Linked DNA regions of Homo sapiens: regions 1, 2, 3 and 5 are each linked to region 4. The links are contacts of gene promoters, found by promoter capture Hi-C in blood cells and fetal thymus (Javierre and others, 2016). All regions are on one chromosome and are shown on one strand. The core of a region is centred on a gene start or on the middle of the fragment in contact, and the rest is flanking DNA. Distances in the headings are between cores, read along the strand shown.

Region 1 (2,700 bases), core at 158-2,657, 250 kb after region 4:
TCTGTTTGACTACCAAATGTTTGCTGTGTCTTACTGCCAAAATTGAGGCTAGCATACACTGTAATAAAACAAAAGATAATATATTATTTATGTATACACAGTTTAACAGTTAAAAGCTTTTTTGCTTTTTGCTTTTCCCATTCAGGTTTTCATCCCAATTGGCATGTATATTTTTGTATGGTATGAGGTAAAGGACTAATTTAATTTGTGTTATTCAAATATTCTGTATCTTCTAATTCAAAACTTCTTTATCCCATTAAAATATTGTACTAACATTTATAAATTAACTTTCTCCTTGTAATTTTATCAATTACATACATACATGCATGTATATGTATACATATACACACATGTCAGAGAAGTCTTGTTTCTTTAGTGAATTATTCTTTTTCTCATTACAATGATCCTCTCTAGAACTAAAAATGTTTTTAGTTTTGGTGTGCATATTTTCCCTATCATCAACATGTTTCTATTTGCTTTTCTCTGAACATTTGCCTAGTGTATCTTTTCCATGCTTTACTTTCTCTCAACCTATCTTGATGTATTTTAGGTAATGCTCTTAAAAAGATCACTTCAATGAAAAACTAAAAAAACAAGATCTGATCACCTCTGTCATTTAAGTTGTAAGTTCTGCCAATTTATACTTACGGAAACTATTCATACATTTGATTTTAATTCTACCATCTTATTTTGTACTATTTATTATTTTTTTCTTTATTACTTCTTCCTTGCCTTTTATTGATCTTTTTATTCTTCAACGAATATAAAAAGTCTATTTGTAATCTTTTAGGGGTTCCCTTAAGTTTTCCTTTAATATTTTAAAAAATGTTTTCCGTGACAAAATACCTAGCGTACGTATATTAATAAAGCAAACATTCTTCTGAGGACTTAAACAACTGTATATATTATATATCCTTTATTTTTTTAATTCATATCTGACATGGTTAAAATCTCTACTTATACCAAAATCTTATCTAGGTAGAGAGATATAGGAGATTTAGTCACAGATTTACATATAGAATTAAAACTTTCAGTTTCCTCATTTCAATTACAGTGCTCTATTAACAGGTTCTGATGCTTTCATGACAATGTCTCATATATTCCTAGAGATTTAAAAATATTTCCTTTCTATTTTTTTTTGAGATGGAGTCTCGCTCTGTCGCCCAGGCTGGAGTGCAGTGGCACGATCTCAGCTCACTGCAAGCTCTGCCTCCCGGGTTCACACCATTCTCCTGCTTCAGCCTCCCGAGTAGCTGGGATGATAGGTGCCCGCCACCATGTCCGGCTAGTTTTTTTGTAATTTTTAGTAGAGACGGGGTTTCACCGTGTTAGCCAGGATGGTCTCAATCTCTTGACCTCATGATCCACCCACCTTGGCCTCCCAAAGCACTAGGATTACAGGCGTGAGCCACCGCACACAGCCGAGATTTAAAAATATTTCTTATGAAGAAATCAAACATCCTATCATACTATGCATATACATAAAAACAATGCAATGCAACATACACCAAAATTTCCAACACCTGGTGTGGATCACTACAATATGTAAATTGGGATGCAAACATCTATATTGTTTTGCATCCATACCATAGGTCCTTCAAAGATCACAAGGGGAATATTAATTGAGATGGTAGTGGTTTTAATGTATAACCAAGTATTAAGTTAAATTCTAGAAAAACGTGGTATCCCTTTATACCAGCTTCTCTAATAACTATTCCAATAGAAAACCAGAGAGCCACTGTGCAATATGACTAAACACTAAGAGTGGATAGTCCTCAAAGGCAATGTAATTATTCAGGGATAGCCTAAACAGGAACAGGTTAAGTGGCACAGCAAGCTCTCTCTGATTATACCAATTATGAGTCCCAAAGATACTCAGGAGTCAAAATTTAGGAAATACCCACATTATTAAGAAAGATGGATTATTTTGTGATGCAGATAATACCACAAAGGATATCTTTAAGGAGTTATGTGGGTCTTTGGGGTGAGTGCAAAAAAGGGTAGTTAAAATGTTAGTGCTAAATACACGAAATCTTCTCTACTAATTTCAAATCATTATTTTTTCATAAATAAATAAGTATATCCCTATCACTCAAATTTTAGTAAAGGACATACAATAAAATTTAAAATACCTAAAGAAATACTTAATTTGATCCTACCTCTATCTAATAATTGTTAAAGCTGTTAATTAGCATGGACATTTAAGAACACCTTCAACCCCCAAATTCCTGACTGATAACCGGTCTCCAATCTTTCCTCTTCTGTATCTTATGTCTTATCTGAAAGGGTAGCTTTTAGGAAGTTACGGTTCCTAATAAGAGACATAATACATTCTAAATTGTCTTAAAATTTAAAACTGTTACGGAAAATAATTGTCATCTGCTAACACAACACTCTTTAATGGATAATGTTATTTTCAATGACTTGGTATTAAAATGCTCATCTTTCTGATGATTAGTGATGTTGAGCTTTTCATATACCTATTAGACATGTATATGTCTTCTTTGAGAAATGCCTACTCAGATCTTTTGCCCATTTTCACATTGTATTTTTGTTTTTTTGCTATTGAATTGTTTGAGTTCCTTATATATTCTGGTTATTGATCCCTCAACAGTGGAATCGTTTGCAAATATTTTCTCCCATTCTGTAAGCTGTATCTTCACTTTGTTGACTGTTTCCTTTGCCATGCAGAAGCTTTTT
Region 2 (2,700 bases), core at 179-2,678, 180 kb after region 4:
TAACTACTAATAACTTACTGTTGATCAGAAACCTTACCAATAACATAAACTGTCAATGAACACATATTTTGGATGTTATATGTATTATATACTGTATTCTTACAAAAAAGTAAGCTAGAGAAAAGAAAATATTAGGAGAGAGAAGAAAAATAAATTTACAGTATTGTATTTGTCAATAATGCAAATTTATGTCATCTGTTTACAAGATTAGTCATCTGTCTGAAATGGTGAGCAACCACAGCTGCAGACCTCAAGCTACTCAGATATCAAGCAATTCAAATTTATCATGTCATGACTTTCCCCTGCTTATTGGGAGCACTTCCAGCATCACTAGTGGCACTTCATATAGGTCTGATGGTGTCACTCAAGTTTTATGGTATTATAGTAAACCTGATGAAAAATACTTAAGAACCATCCATTTGCATATGTTGAACCATCCTTGCATCCCTGGGATAAATTCCACGTGGACATGACGGATAATCTTTTTTTTCTTTTTTTTGAGATGGAGTCTCACTCTGTCATCCAGGCTGAAGTGCAGTGGCGTGATCTTGGTTCACTGCAAGCTCCACCTCCCGGGTTCATGCCATTCTCCTGCCTCAGCCTCCCAAGTAGCTGGGACTACAGGCACCTGCCACCACGCCCGGCTAATTTTTTGTATTTTTAGTAGAGACGGGGTTTCACCATGTTAGCCAGGATGGTCTCGATCTCCTGACCTCGTGATCTGCCTGCCTCGGCCTCCCAAAGTGCTGCAATTACAGGTGTGAGCCACTGTGCCTGGCCGAATAATCTTTTTATACAAATTTGTTTCATGTTCCTAATATTTTGTTCTTTTTTATTAAGTAGTATTCCATGGTATATTTAGATTTTAAAGAAACTGCCAAACCTAGAGTGGCTGTACCATTTTATTTACATTCTCACCAGCTGTGTATGAGATGTAGTTTCTCTGTAATCTTGTCAGCATTTTGTATTGTCACTATTTTTTATTTTGGATGTTCTAATACTTGTGTGGTGATCATGGCCTTAACTTGCATATGCATTTCCCGGATGGCTAGTGATGTTGAACATCTTTTCACTTGCTTATTTGACCAGTCACACATCCTCCCTTATTTGCCATCCGTATAGCCTCATGGTTTAAATATTTTTTCAGGTCTTTTGTCTATTTTTTTATTTGAGTTTTTTTTTATGTTGAGCTTTGAGATTTCTTTACATATTCTAGGTATGAGTTCTTTGTCAAATATGCGGTTTGAAAATATTTTTCCCAGTCTGTAGCTTGTCCCTTTATCTATTTTTTTTTAATTTTTTAAAATTTTTTGATACAGAGTCTCACTCTGCTGCCCAGGCTGCAGTGCAGTGGTACAATCTTGGCTCACTGCAACCTCCACCTCCTGGGTTCAAGCGATTCTCCTGCCTCAGCTTCCAGGGTAGCTGGGATTACAGGCACGCACCACCACACCCAGCTAATTTTTGTATTTATAGTAGAGATGGGGTTTCACTATATTAGCCAGGATGGTCTTGAACTCCCAACCTCAGGTGATCTGCCCACCTTGGCAGATCAACCCCAAAGGGCTGAGATTATAGGATCATGCTTTTAGTGCCATATGTAAAACTTTTCACCAAGTCCTAAGATTTTCTCATGTTATCTTCTAAAAGTTTTACATTTAAGTTGTACATTTAACTCTACGATCCATTTTGAGTTAGTTTATTTATTATTATTTTCTTATTTTTATATTTTTTTCTTTATTTTATTTCTGGATCATCTCATGCCGAAGTATTGAGTTAGTTTTGTTAGCAGATGTGAGGTTGAGGCAGAAAAAGAAATAAAAGTCACAGATAAGGGAAAAGAAAGTCAATTTAATGGGACAGAATTTAATCACTAAAAATAATTTTAAAACCATTGAGAATAGAAAGTTTTATGATAATATTAAGTTTAAAAAACTGAATAACTAGGATTTCAGCATTACAAAAAAAGTATGGATGGAATCAGAAAACATGAAAAGAAAGTGAAAATAATTTGAGTGCCGAAGTAAGATTTCTTACCTACATGCTGACTCAGTGCCTGAACAACATTTGTAGCAGCCGCATAGATGCCTGGATTCTTGGAATTCAGATTGTTATCCACTATTGCTGGAATTAGCATGTTGATTATAGGAGATAAGTGGTCTCTAAGTAGAGGAATCATTTTGTGCATTGTTTCCAGAGCCACCAGATTTACTTTACTATTAGAATCATGAAGTCGAGATTTAAAAGCATCAAAAATCTGAAAATAAATTGGTAAATTATTTAAAGTAAAATGATTTTTATAGCTATTGTATTTATAAGTATCTTGGCATGTCATAATATTTCTCCTACTTTACTCAGTTTAAATATATACACAACATCCTATTTTGCCTGAACTTGGATAACAGGAACTTTATAAAAATTTGGGTACTAAATCTAAGTGTCAAATCTTCTTGTAACAAAAAGAGAAGGCCTCAAAAATCACCCCAAAAGACATCCTAATAAAGGCTGAAAAATGTGGCTCAGTAGGCAGATGACTGACTGACTGACTGTAAATATGATAAACATCTTGTTTTCTGGAAGATGGAGGTTAGCTTAGCTAACTCTAAGAACTTAGAAAAGTTTCTGTTTTTATCTCTTTTCACACTAGAAGTAGACTTGTAAGTTTTACTGTGGAGATTTAACCTAGTTTCAGTTTAGGTT
Region 3 (2,700 bases), core at 63-2,562, 230 kb after region 4:
AGCCTCCTGCGTAGCTAGGACTACAGACGCACAGCACCAGGCCTGCCCAATTTTTTGTATTTTTTTTTTTTTTGGTAGAGATGGGGTTTTGCCATGTTGTCCAGGCTGGTCTTGAACTCTTGAGTTCAAGTGATCTGCCCGCCTGGGCCTCCCAAAGAATGGGATTACAGGAGTGAGCCACTGCACCTGGCAGAGCTGGGTGTTTAAGATGGTTTCAAGGAGCAAGGATTTGAGCTGGGATTTGAAGACAGGAAGGATCTGTATAAAGTAAAGAAGGAGAGGGGGAAATCTATGAGATGGGGATGTTTACATGCAGAGTTGAAAGTTTCTAAAGCATTTATGTGGAGCGAATAAATGAGCTTGGCCGGGCAAATAAAGGAATAACAGAAAATAAGTTTACAAGAGTAAGCTGTAGCCAATCTGAGGAGGGTTTTAAAATAACCTAATGAGACTATCAAGCAAAGAAGTTAGGACAAATTTTTCAAAACGTTTATTCTATTTCATTATATTGAACAAAAATAAGATGCATACCCTCAATGTATATTACCACATTCTAGTTTTCAATTAAAATAGAAAATAGCTTTAAAGGATACTTGCAATAATTTTGTTCAAGGTCCCTTAGCCCCCTTAAAATATATAACAGGAGTTTAATTTTCACTTGTCTAGATCTTGTATGGGAGATAATTATATTAATTTATATTGATTATTACGCTGATAAATAAGGGCTACTTGAATTTAAACTATGCTAAAACTAAGTAAGCTATCCTAAAATAGTCTTAGAAGTACCTAAACTGCAGCTGTCACATAATACATCTCTCTGAAAATTAATGACATGAATTTACTATAGTTTCATTAGAAGATAGAAATGTGAAGGTAAGTATTCACTTCTAATTATTTTAATGAAGATAATGTAATACATTTTTAAAAAGAAGTTCCACTCAACACTTGAATCACATTCTTTTCTATTCCTTATTGATAGGCTTTGCTTCTATATGATGAATACATATAATTAAGAAGCGAAATAACTTTGAAATACCTTTTCCAACAACTACTACTGAGTCTTCTGATAAAGCCTTTGTGGTTGTGAAGTCAAAACTGGAAATTTGCTGTGGATTTGATGATGACCCTGTAAATCCCCCAAAAAACAAAACAAATACTTAAACATATTTGCTTATTATGTAGTATCTTAGGATATTGTAACATAGTCTTTTAAAACTGAAAATTTATTTCATACAAAGAATTTACAATTTATTCACACGTTCATTAAGTCATTATAAATGTTTGTAACTGCAATACTAGAATGGACTAGGCACTTAAACCTTCCTTTCCTTTTTTTTTTTTTTTTGAGATGGAGTCTCGCTCTGTCGCCCAGGCTGGAATGCAGTGGTGTGATCTTGGCTCACTGCTACCTCCACCTCCTGGGTTCAAGCGATTCTCCTGCCTCAGCCTCCTGAGTAGCTGGGATTACAGGTACGCACCACCATGCTCAGCTCATTTTTGTATTTTTAGTAGAGATGGGGTTTCACCATTTTGGTCAGGCTGATCTCGACCTCCTGACCTCATGATCCGCCTGCCTCGGCCTCCCAAAGTGCTGGTATTACAGGCATGAGCCACCATGCCTGGCCCCTTCCTTTCCTTAAGGAGTTTACATGTCAGGGTGAGGTGTGAGAGGCATACAAGCGACTTATCACAGCATGATAATCAGGCAACAAAAGGGTCATCAAAAAGAAAATCCTCTGACATCAGAAAACAGATCAGGTCAATGTCACAGCAATCTGTGCTTTTCTAGGTTAACTTTTATCTTAGTTTCTGATTCTTTATTTACAATCCTACTAGACTGTAAGTTCCATGGGGATAGGATCTATGTCTAGTTTTGATGATTATTCTTTCCCAGAGCCTAATATAGTGTTTGGCACATACCAGGTATTCCATAAATATATGTTAGATGAATGTATCAAGGCAAAAAAAGAAAAGAGAAATATGTATTGCTTTAGGTTTTATGAAAGAAAAGCAGTTAAACAGTGATAAAGTCAATCAAATAATTGATTTTTAAAAATTAAGCAGCAGATAGATTGTTTTGTCAACTGCTAATGCTAATAGTAACCTGGCTTTATGTGAAAATGGCAAAGATTAAAGAAAGAAATCCATGTAAGTGATCATTTTTCATGTATTTCTTCTTTAGTATGCAATCAAAATTAGTACACACATCAACTAACAGAAACACGGGTTAGCCCAAAAACGTGTTCTGTGACAAAGAGAAAAAAATCTCAGTAAATGGAATAATTTGCTCAACAGTCCACATAAACATAAAATCTATACATAAACTATCAAGAGACGAATGATCAGACAAATCTCATCAAAAAAATATAAAAGACATGTTATCTCCAATGAGTTTAACTTCATTTATAAGAGAAGCTGTCATTAATCATTTTTAATATATTTTTATGTTTTACACTATATTTTTCTTAAAGAAATGTTGAAAGAAATATTGTTCATTAAGTCTCAATTCTAAAATATATAGAAAATATGTTTAAAGGCTTCTTCACACACAAATATCATTATATATTTTTTCTTTGTTATAATACTTCCATCTAATTCAAATATCAAAAGAGTAAATAGTAAATCATGGAATCTAGTTTGCTAATACTTCAAGCACCCTCCACTTTCTCAAGTTATTAATTGAGACAGCAGACATGATAT
Region 4 (2,700 bases), core at 66-2,565:
ATTTAGAAGGGACTGCAAAAGTCACTTTAAAAAAAAATTACCACCTTTTCAGTAAAGCCTCTTAATGGGGAAATGTGGTATGTGACTAGAAGTTGACTAATTTTCTTAGATGGAAGTATAAAATAAAAAGAAGCTCTGTTGTCACAAATGCGGATGGGGGGAAGAGGACAGACTTCATGCAGGACTGGAGTTGGACAGGGTTCAGGGCTGAGAACACACCTTACTACCCTGGCTTCCCCTTCTCTACTTTCAAGACTGAACCAATGTGCCCTATACAAGGCGAAGAATACACCCGGTCACTCCGCGGTGGTTAGAGTGGAGATTCACTGGGTGCAGTCTAAAGCGGGACGCAGTCTGGGGGCCACCGTCACAAGCTGCTTACAGCAACCTAGAGTTGTCGAGATTAATGTTTCTGGAATGTGAAGTGACTTAAAAAAAAATTAATCACTTCCTGGCTCGGTGCGGTTGCCTGTAATCCTGGCACTTTGGGAGGCCGAGATGGAGGATCGCTTGAACCCAGGAGTTCCAGACTAGGCTGGGCAACATGGTGAGACCTCCTCTCTACAAAATAAAAATAAGCCAAGCATGGTCGCGCGCGCCTGTAGTTCCAGCTACTCGGAGGCTGAGGTGGGAAGATCCCTTGGAGTTCCAGACTGCAGTGAGCCGTTATTGCGCCACTGCACTCAGGCCTAGGCGACAGAGCGAAACCCTGTCCCCCACGCCCAAAAAATCGTATTTCCTGAGGGAACAGTTCCAACTAAACATCCCACTTTGTGCGTAACTTTACATTCAATCCATCATCACCTCAAGAACAAAATGTTCTTTCTCCGCCTCAAACATGGAGGACAGAAAAACAGAAGTTCTCTCAAACCCACCAAGCACGCTGTTTTCCTGAGACGGAAAAGAAGGATAACAGCCGCTACGGCGCACAGCCTGTAGGGGAGGACGGCAACCAGGAAAGGCCAAACTTAGCCGCAGTAGTGCCGGGGCGTGCTCGCGGCCCACGGCGTCCCACGTCGTCCCACGTCAGCCTTGTCCCGGCAGAGCTTCACGAGAGGAAAGGCGGGATTCAGGGTGGGCGCGTGCCCTACGAAGACGAAACGAACTTTGAAGACAACTAGAGGAGCTCGCCCCCTGCCTGTGACAGCTTAGGGTCGCCTACTTTTTGTGGACACACTGCCGTCCACGGAGTGCAGAGGCCGCCTGCAGTTTTCTTGCGTCCCTGTGAGACGCACGGTGGCGCAATTCCCGAGCGTGCCAATCCCGGGCTGGCTGGAGGGCGGGCTCTTCAAATTTGAATTGCGGAAGTGTTTTGTGTGTTAGAGAACGTCGCGGAGGAGGTAAGCGTCGCTTGGCGCCTGGCCGCCGCGGGCAGGATACACCGTGGGCCTGAGGCGCGAGCCCGGCGGCGTGCGGCCCTCTCTCCGCGCGGAGCCGAGCCGGAACTGCGGCAGTCTCTCCCTGCCAGGCTCTTCATCCAAGGTACGTCCTCCCCGCGCCCTCCGCTAACCTCCTACCGCGGGTCCCCGCAGATGGTGGGCGTCTGCCCTTTAAGCATCTCGGCTCACGCGGTTTTATTTATTTTTTTTGTAGATTTCTGGCTTTGGTACGGATTTTATACTTCGCACTCGATGTTTACTTGTTGCGTGTCTACTGTACTTAAGAGAGTAGAACACGATTGCTCAAATTTATTTCGATGGTGAGCGTTCTAGGTCTTTGTTCTAAAATAAATTTTTTTTTTTTTTTTTTAGAATACCAAGTGGGAAAATTGTATTCCTCAGTACCCAACTCTTCCCCTTGGGACCCCAGGACCCACAGGGCTATAGAAGCAGTTGATCATTCAGCTTATGTTTTCTTCTGGTTAAATTGCATGCTTGTTGCAAACATCTTTAGATGTTAATAAAATTATTTAGAAAATGGTCGGGCGCGGTGGCACACGCCTGTGATCCCACACTTTGGGAGGCCGAGGCGGGTGGATCTTTTGAGCTCAGGAGTTCAAGAAAATGGTAGGCCACTTCATCCTGGCCTTCAAAGATAAACACTGTTTACAATTTGGTTCACCGCTTCCAGAGTTTTTCTCTATGCCTGTATGTGTTTTATTTATTTACTTAAAAATTTTTTTAAACAAATGCAATTCTATGTTGTTACTTTCTTTTTCAATTTAATGTTTCTTGGATACTTTTCCATATAAGTACATATATATCTTTTTATTGAATACATAGAGTAAATTGTATGGATGTGGCGGGATTTATTTTGTCCTTTATTGGTAGACATCTGGGTTGTTTCATTTCATTTTATGCTGCAGTGAACTTCCCTGTGTAGTGGGTGTGTAGACTGTTGCCTGTTGGTAAATAACTGAAGCTATGGAGTCGGGTAGAATCGGTTCCTCTTTCTCACTTATTGTCAAGTGACCTTGGGCAGCTTACTTAACCACCTTATACCTTAATTTCTCTTTTTTCAAATTGGGAGTAATAACAGTACTTAACTCTTTAGAGTTGCTGTTAGATTATATAGTGGCTGGCATGTAAATATTCAGTAAATATCGGCAATTATGGTACATATATATTTGCATTCTTACGCAGATGTTTCTATAGGAAAAAACAAGTTAGAAGTGGAATTTCCGTGTCAATAGTATGCATACTTGCATTTTGAAATTAATATTTACCAATGTGATATGAAAAAGAAATCTCACTGTTTTAG
Region 5 (2,700 bases), core at 196-2,695, 200 kb after region 4:
TATTAAATTAAACATATTTTTAAATTAATATGTAAATAGATTACTTTTCATATTTTATTTCACTTGGTATTCTCTCAGTCACTCATTTATCAGACATTACTGAATTCCCATTATCTACCAGGACAAATAAGACATGGCATGGCTGGGCGCATTGGCTCTCGCCTGTAATCCCAGCACTTTGGGAGGCCGAGTCAGGCGGATCACCTGAGGTCAGGAGTTCAAGACAAGCCTGGCCAACATGGTGAAACCCCGTCTCTACTAAAAAATACAAAAAATTAGTTGGGCGTGGTGGTGGGCACCTGTAATCCCAGCTACTCGAGAGGCTGAGGCAGGAGAATCGCTTGAACCCAAGAGGTGGAGGTTGTAGTGAGCCGAGATCACACCACTGCACTCTAGCCTAGTGGCACAGCAAGACTCTGTCTCAAAAGAAAAAAAAAAAAAAAAAAAAGACATTGCACTTACCCTCAAGGAGCTCCCTAAAAATGTTCTGCAGTGTGGTAATAGCTCTAATAGTGGGACATGCAAGGTAAATAAAGCAGGGACTAAACATGGTAAACATTATTATCCTCATTTTATAAAGTGAGAATTCTAGTTAGAGAAATGAAGAGGCATGTGTAAGTTACACAGTTGCTAACTGTTAGAGCTGCAATTCAAACCCATGTCTTGTTAACTCCAATAAGCCAAACTATATTCTACCAAACATCAAGCTTCTGTGCAATAAACATTTACTTCCAAGGCTTGACAATATGTATGTCTACTTAGTATTGTAATTGTTGAAATGCTATTGCAGATATAGTCCAATAGTCCAAATGATTAACAGAGAAATAATCAAATAAATAATTATTCCTATCCTTTACCTGGATGTAAAAACAAGCTTTGCTTATAAAGCTGTTTATAAAACAAACTTTTCCCACATACCTTTTGCTGTAAGTTTCTAACAGAGTCCTTAATATATGGCAAATCTTTAGATGGGACATACTTTTCAAGCATTTTTTCAAAGTTAGGATGACACATCATGAAGAACAGCATCTTTCGACCATAATACCTGTGAGTATTTGAAAAACAGGTATATTACTTTTTAGACATTAATAAGCTCAGTTGCTGACCTTAGATGCATTGTTTCAATAGAAAAAAAACACCTATCAAACATCAAGATTACCATCCCTATATTAAATAACCATGAAAATATAGATATCCTAACTGTATAGGATACCCTAGAGGGTACAGATGGTCTCCGACTTACAACGGTTTGACTTATAATTTTTCAACTTTATAATAGTGTGAAAGAGATATGATTCTGTGGAAACCATACTTTGAATTTTGACTTTTTCCATGGCTAGTCATATGCAGTATGACACTCTTTTAAGATGCTGGGCAGCAGCAGCGAGCCACAGCTCCCACTCAGCCATATGATCACCATACTCTACAATGTACTGTGTTGCCAGATGATTCTGTCTAAGCGTAGGCTAATGTAAGTGTTCTCAGCATGTTTAAGGTAAGGCTTGGCTACATTATGATGTTTGGTAGGTTAGGTGTTTAAATGCACTTTTGGCTTATGATAATTCCTATTCATGATGGGTTTATTGGGATATAACCTCATTGTAAGTTAAGAAGCATCTGTGGCCAGGTACAGTGGCTCACGCCTGTAATCCCAGCACTTTGGGAGGCCAAGGCAGGTGGATCACAAGGTCAGGAGTTCGAGATCAGCCTGGCCAACATGATGAAACCCCGTCTCTCCTAAAAAAATACAAAAATTAGCCAGATGTGTTGGCGTGCTCAGGTAATCCCAGTTATTCAGGAGACTGAGGCAGGAAAATCATTTGAATCCAGGAGGTGGAGGTTGCAGTGAGCCGAGATCACACCATTGCACTCCAGCCTGGGCAACAGAGTGAGACTGCGTCTCAAAAAAAAAAAAAAAAAAAAAAAAGCATCTGTTGGGATGCTCCCATAATCCCCCTTTAAAGTCACTGTCTTCAAATCCTTCTGCCATGTGCCAGATGGAGAGACAAAAGCTTTGATTCTATTTTTCAGGCACCCCAAGGTCCATATCAATGCTGGCATTTGGGAGAATTGTGAAGTTTTCCTCCATCCTGGGCTCCTTGCCCATTGACCATTTGCTGTCCACCTAAGGGCCAGATGTTCTGGCCTGAGTCAACCCTCCCTAGGTCCTGTATTTCTCATTCTCTGTTTTTCCCTAGCCAAAACTTACCAGGGTTCTGATTCTTCAGAATCCTATTCTTTACTACCTAAAATACACCCAAGGTTAGTTGATAAAATTGTGACTGATATGTTAATACAGGTAATAATCTCAAAAACTAGGTTTTCTTATTTATATGAATTATAAAATAATCATCTTAGCATAATACTTTAAGCCCAATGATTCTAATGGTGGAAATTCAGATATCATGGAAGTGCATACTGGAGATATTTTAGCACACAGATGTCTTATACTACTTCAAAATAGTACCACACTATTCATCTTCAATGAGGCCGGGCCCTAAAATAAATCACAGTTACACTTTTACTCACAACTTGGAATATATGGCACAAAAAGAACCAGAGAAGAGGCTGGGCGTGGTGGCTCACACCTGTAATCCCAGCACTTTGGGAGGCCAAGGCAGGTGGATCACCTGAGGCCAGGAGTTAGAGACTAGCCTGGCCAACATGGTGAAACCCAGTGTCTACTAAAAATACAAAAAT

What was found. The method cuts DNA at HindIII sites, captures the fragments that hold promoters and counts their contacts. A CHiCAGO score of 5 or more calls a contact.
Region 1: a fragment that was not itself captured here is called in contact with the fragment with the promoter of MIS18BP1 in region 4 in 2 of 17 cell types (neutrophils and monocytes); the score reaches 6.5 in neutrophils.
Region 2: a fragment that was not itself captured here is called in contact with the fragment with the promoter of MIS18BP1 in region 4 in 4 of 17 cell types (monocytes, neutrophils, total CD4 T cells and 1 more); the score reaches 10.0 in monocytes.
Region 3: a fragment that was not itself captured here is called in contact with the fragment with the promoter of MIS18BP1 in region 4 in 1 of 17 cell types (monocytes); the score reaches 6.3 in monocytes.
Region 5: a contact is called between a fragment that was not itself captured here and the fragment with the promoter of MIS18BP1 in region 4, in 4 of 17 cell types (total B cells, activated CD4 T cells, monocytes and 1 more). The highest score is 5.5, in total B cells.

What each region holds. Positions count from the first base shown.
Region 1 is chr14:45,001,419-45,004,118 of GRCh38, reverse strand. TOGARAM1 (TOG array regulator of axonemal microtubules 1) reads right to left here. Exons shown (of 20, transcript NM_001308120.2): 4 at 1-58. Among named protein-coding and RNA genes, the nearest start is that of TOGARAM1, 41 kb to the right of the region's middle. The HindIII fragment of the contact is 2,578 bases long and covers 119-2,696 here.
Region 2 is chr14:45,067,981-45,070,680 of GRCh38, reverse strand. It overlaps TOGARAM1 (TOG array regulator of axonemal microtubules 1), which reads right to left. Exons shown (of 20, transcript NM_001308120.2): 18 at 2,038-2,257. Among named protein-coding and RNA genes, the nearest start is that of PRPF39-DT, 15 kb to the left of the region's middle. The HindIII fragment of the contact is 4,259 bases long and covers 1-2,700 here.
Region 3 is chr14:45,024,209-45,026,908 of GRCh38, reverse strand. TOGARAM1 (TOG array regulator of axonemal microtubules 1) reads right to left here. Exons shown (of 20, transcript NM_001308120.2): 8 at 1,037-1,126. Among named protein-coding and RNA genes, the nearest start is that of PRPF39-DT, 58 kb to the left of the region's middle. The HindIII fragment of the contact is 3,823 bases long and covers 1-2,700 here.
Region 4 is chr14:45,251,817-45,254,516 of GRCh38, reverse strand. MIS18BP1 (MIS18 binding protein 1) reads left to right here and starts at 1,315. Exons shown (of 17, transcript NM_018353.5): 1 at 1,315-1,482. It overlaps LOC107984674 (a long non-coding RNA gene), which reads right to left and starts at 1,226. Exons shown (of 4, transcript XR_001750746.2): 1 at 876-1,226. RefSeq lists enhancers at 667-726, 797-986, 148-1,097, 1,007-1,186, 1,287-1,346. The HindIII fragment of the contact is 13,340 bases long and covers 1-2,700 here.
Region 5 is chr14:45,050,781-45,053,480 of GRCh38, reverse strand. TOGARAM1 (TOG array regulator of axonemal microtubules 1) reads right to left here. Exons shown (of 20, transcript NM_001308120.2): 15 at 919-1,045. Among named protein-coding and RNA genes, the nearest start is that of PRPF39-DT, 32 kb to the left of the region's middle. The HindIII fragment of the contact is 1,138 bases long and covers 877-2,014 here.